2 separate regions of the Homo sapiens genome follow, and region 2 is linked to region 1. The links are contacts of gene promoters, found by promoter capture Hi-C in blood cells and fetal thymus (Javierre and others, 2016). All regions are on one chromosome and are shown on one strand. The core of a region is centred on a gene start or on the middle of the fragment in contact, and the rest is flanking DNA. Distances in the headings are between cores, read along the strand shown. Region 1 holds the start of LMO2 (LIM domain only 2). Region 2 has its middle 25 kb from the start of ABTB2.

Region 1 (2,511 bases), core at 5-2,504:
CCTATATTACAAATGAGAAAACTGAGGCTGCCATCTTTCTAAGGTCTAAAGTGATTTTCTGGGAGCACAAACAAGAGCTTAATTAATTTTAACAGATAAAGACAGAAAAGGCTTCACAGAAGATTCACCTTTTCAGGGCAACCTAAAGAAGTATGGGTTGGTTTTCTTTAAGCTGAAACATTACGGCAAGAACCTGGAGTAATATCTGCTTCAAAGGGGAGTTATGCAAAGTCAACAAGAGAAGACGTGTAAAACCCAAGCACAGTACCTGGCACAAAGTAGATGCTCCCAAATCTTTGTTCCCCTTCATTGATCCTCTGTGATGGAAGGAACTTGTAGCCACTTTCCTCATCCGCCTTGGTTTTTCAAAAACACCCTTTGAAGTTATAACCTCCTTGGGAGCCAAGGCTTCTCTGAAGCACCCCATTACAATCTTTGCCCTCAACTCAGAACTGGAATGTGTTTGAAAATGCTAACAAGGGCAGCAGCCCCACCTCTTCGTCATTGCCTAAGGTTGTTAGGCAAACACACACACACACACACACACACACACACACACACACACACATGCACACACACTCACACAGTTGCTGGGGAGATCATGGTAAACACAAGCCTCTCTTTTGGATCAGAATAATTGAGTGGTCTCCCTTTGTGGCCAGTGTACAGGAACAAATTAGATGGGTAAATTAGCAGTTCCCGAAGACATTAGCAACCAGCGGCTCACACAGCAAGCGCCTGACTCACCGTGGGGCCTCTCCAAGTCACAGCCTATGAATAGATGCTCTTCCTCCCTCCGAAAGAGAAGCCAGAGTGCCCGGAACACCACAGGGGAAGCTTGAAGACTTGTACCCCTTTGGAGTCTTTTTATTTTAAAAGACCAATTTAATCACCACTTCTTCTGGCTCCTTGAAGATGAAAAAAGTTCCCTTGCAATCGTCCATTCATCAGAGAATTAATGAAGCCTACTCACCAGCAGATGATGTAATCCTGGTGGCTTCCCCCATCAGATCTAGGCTGCCTGCCCCACGGATACCTTCTGGGCTAATTGCCTGCTTTGCACCTGTTCCTTCTCGGGAGGCCCTGGCACCCTAGCACCTGGTGCCTGTGCCATCTCCCCTCTCTGCCAGGACACCCAGAGGCCCTTGTGAATAGCAAAGCCCACTTAACGGCTGAGGGCAGGTGGGGGTATTTCCTTCTCAATTCTGCTCAAGGCCCGTTGCTGTTCTTTGAGGATGTTGCAAATCCAGGGTTTGGAGGGCTGGGCCTCTTGGTGGCCTGGTTGTCTATCTGATAGGGCGGAGCCTTCACCCTTGCAGCGAGCTCTCTCACACCAGATGTGCTCTGCGTGGAATCCTAGGCCATCAGGGGATTCCTTAGCAAGCCCTGCAGGACCCAAATCCTAACTCAGACCCTCATCCTCCTACTCAGAATGTGGAGACTTGTGATCCTCAGTTTGGACGAATTCCAAGAGACCTTCCAATTCCCAGAGGCCATCTTTGGTTCTGTTCACACATAGCTCCCTCTCCCTCCTAGGCCTTCTCCCTTTGAATTTCTCCCCTACACCATCAGCCTGTATTTACTTCTCCTTCTTGCTTAATGCATGACTATATTATCCCAGTTAAGGGGGTCTGCAGGTTTTATCAGAAAGTTCAGAGGCTCACATGACCTGGATTGGAACTTGGCTCAGCCACTGACTAGCCAGACAAACTCAAATAACGTACACAGCTTCTCAGCACCTCACCCCCTCATTCATAAAAAACAGGGACAATGGTACCCACTTTGCAGGGTTGTTGAGTGGATTAAATTAAACAACACAAGGAAAGAGCTTTCCTAAGTTCCAATGCTATGTAACACACACAGTATTGTCTTACCCAGCAATAATTTCGGTGCACGGATCTGATCATCTCTTAATTAAATATTGAATTCTCCTAACACGGTTCTTTTTTTGAACCCCTCAGGGTCTGAACAGTTATAAGTGCACAGAAGTTGGGTCTTTATGAGCTGAATAAAAGGAGACTCCGGCTGTCTTCTCTTTTGTCCTTACCATAAAGCTCTTGTCAGCTGCTCTCCTGGCCCTGCCTCTGACCCTGGGCTTTGGGGCCACTATAGGCTCTCCTTTCCTTGTCCCCCTCTGAGTCCTGAAGTCCTGGTTTGCAATCTGCTGTTGCAGTTCTCTGGAATGGCTGCTTCCCCATGCGCCCCTGTCTGTCAGCTACCTCCCCCGCATGCATGTCTGTCTGCTGGGCAAGGCCCAATTCCGAGGTGACAGCTCACCGGGCCTCACCCACAAGTCTCTTCCAAGCATTAGCAGCCCACCCCAGTCCAAAGATATCTTTTATAGCTGATCTCTGGTGGCACCTCCTACCTTCCAATTAGGAGCCTGTCAACACCCAGGCCATCACTCTTCCTGCAGTGTCTGACAACACACACGCCTGCCGCGGCTGCGCCGGGAGAGTCAAGCAAAATTGTTTCCATGGTGGTGGTGGTGGCCTGAGCACAAGAGTTGAA
Region 2 (2,511 bases), core at 9-2,508, 490 kb after region 1:
ATTCAACAGCAGAAAATTGGCAAGGTAAAGTATGAAATACTCATTTAACAGAATACTTTGTGATAACTAAAAAGACACTGTAGAAATATATTTCTAGATGTGGAAGATGTCCATAATATATTGTCAAATTTTAAAAAGATGTGTTACAGAACACTATTGCAAAAATAAAAATACATAGATGGGTGAAATATGATATGTTAGTAGTGGTTTTCCCTTGAGGAAAGGGATTGTGGATTTTTTTTTCTTGAAAAAGTTTATTTTGCTTCCCTGTCCTTTCTGAGTTCTTTGTAGTGAAACTATGTTGTTCTTATATAAGAAAAAGAAGAAAAGGAAGACTTTACCAAAAACATATAAATATGAAAGCATAATACTAATGGGATCACAGGAGAAAGGCCTTATTTTTTGCAGCCAGCTCTTATATAGTACCTACTATGCACCATGCATATTTATTTACATTTATTAACTTGTTTTTCTCATCACAACCCTATGATCTTTTCCACTGATGAGGCAACCAAAGCACAGTGATGGTCAGTAACTTGATAAGGTCATAGAGCTAGTAGAGCCAGGATTTGGAGCCCAAGAATCTAGCTAGTTCTAGACTCTGTGCTCTTAACAACCACTGTACTATGAGGAAAGAAATCTAGGTATGTGCCTTCTGTCATCACATCTCCATGATGTCCATTTTTCATGCCTGCTTGATTCCGGATAGGCTGAAAAGGAGTAGTGGGCCAGTTTTGATGGCACATATTAGATGCAATCTGCTATGCCCTTCAGGAGCTGGCTTTGAGGCTGATCCTAGACATAATGCAGTGGGTGAAATGTATTTTAGTGTTTCCTGCCCTGCCTACTTGCTAAATGTAATGCCTTCACCTGCTTATTGAAACTAATAAGGTTCACTGATGGTGTCTGGAATTTTCCTGGCATATTTTTACTATGTTGAAGCCTAGTTATCTTATTCTCTTAACACTTGGCTTTGTACTAGGCAAATACTAGCAAATCTTCAGAAATAAATTAATGCTAAAATGATAATGGGCACCAGTGTGTTGCTACATCATCCTTCCAGGAAACATGTATATGTAAATAGATGCCTTCTAAAAGTTATTTTTAATGCCAAAGAATTCATTTTCATGGTAGATATTTTGGACGTTGCAGGGAGAATATTTTAGGCATTAAAGCTTAGCTGGCTTCACTAATAGCTGTTTCCAGTTTTCTTATCTCTTGCCAACTTCCCTATAAAGGCTGAGAAAACTAAATATTCACTTTCCCAGCCTCCTTGCAGCTAGGGGTGGCACAGTTCTAGACCATGAGATGTGGGCAGTGGTCTGTTGGTGGTTTGTGGAGAAAGCTTTTGCTTTTCTGATAAAAGCAAAATGTTGACACTTGTACCTTGCAATGCCTCCTCCTACCTGCCTCTGGTGCCTTAATCTTTATACTTGGTGATGTCTTGGTCATTTGTGATTGGGAGGAAGAGAACAGAAGAACTGCAGAGATGCTGGACCTGAAATTATGGGGTCACTGAATCAACGCCAGCAGTTGCCTATATCACTTTTTTAATAGGTAGAAAAATAATCCCTATGTGTTAAACCACAGTTAGCCAGATTGTCTTTCACTTTCAGCCAAAGCATTCCTAATTGATGTGCACATTTTCATTTTGCATTTTGCATTTCAAAATGAACTATGTGCGCATAGTTCATTTTCCTGGCTCTAGTTTTACCCAGAACATTGAAGTACGGTTCCAACACTACAGGAAGGCAAACAAAATCAAAGACCCACCCAATTGTGGGTACCTGTTCATAGCATTTCTGAGCATGTTATACGTCCTTTACTTAATTTCTGGTGACTTTAAAAAGAAAGACAATAAGACTAAAAAATGGAGACCATTGTCTAAGATTCATCATAGGTTAAGAAATGCAATATATAGCATTAAAAATGCTATATTAGTCTGGGTGCGGTGGCTCACGCCTGTAATCCCAACACTTTGGGAGGCCGAGGCGGTGGATCACGAGGTCAGGAGATCGAGACCATCCTGGTTAACATGGTGAAACCCTGTTTCTACTAAAAATACAAAAAATTAGCCGGGCGTGGTGGCGGGCGCCTGTAGTCCCAGCTACTCGGGAGGCTGAGGCAGGAGAATGGCGTGAACCCAGGAGGCAGAGGTTGCAGTGAGCCGAGATAGCGCCACCGCAGTCCGGCCTGGGTGAAAGAGCGAGACTCCGTCTAAAAAAAAAAAAAAATTGCTGTATTATTTTACTGACTTGACAAAAACATTTGATGACAACCATTTATTCAGACTTTTGGTTACTATTTTTCAGTTGATAAATCCATCAGATTCTTACTAGTACATAATGCAGGAGCTAGTTGGTCGGGTTTATTTTCTTTCCTTTCTATTCACTTTCTTTTTAATTTTTCCTCTTTTAGTTCCTTCCTTCCCTCCCTTCTTCCTCCCTCCTTGCTTGCTTCCTTCCTTCCCTTCTCTCCTTCCTTTTCCTTCTTTCCTTTCTACCTTCTCTT

Evidence for each region. The method cuts DNA at HindIII sites, captures the fragments that hold promoters and counts their contacts. A CHiCAGO score of 5 or more calls a contact.
Region 2: a contact is called between a fragment that was not itself captured here and the fragment with the promoter of LMO2 in region 1, in 2 of 17 cell types (activated CD4 T cells and naive CD8 T cells). The highest score is 6.1, in activated CD4 T cells.

The regions. Positions count from the first base shown.
Region 1 is chr11:33,890,822-33,893,332 of GRCh38, forward strand. It overlaps LMO2 (LIM domain only 2), which reads right to left and starts at 1,255. Exons shown (of 6, transcript NM_005574.4): 1 at 974-1,255. RefSeq lists an enhancer at 711-820. The HindIII fragment of the contact is 4,099 bases long and covers 836-2,511 here.
Region 2 is chr11:34,381,419-34,383,929 of GRCh38, forward strand. No RefSeq gene overlaps it. Among named protein-coding and RNA genes, the nearest start is that of ABTB2, 25 kb to the left of the region's middle. The HindIII fragment of the contact is 170 bases long and covers 1,174-1,343 here.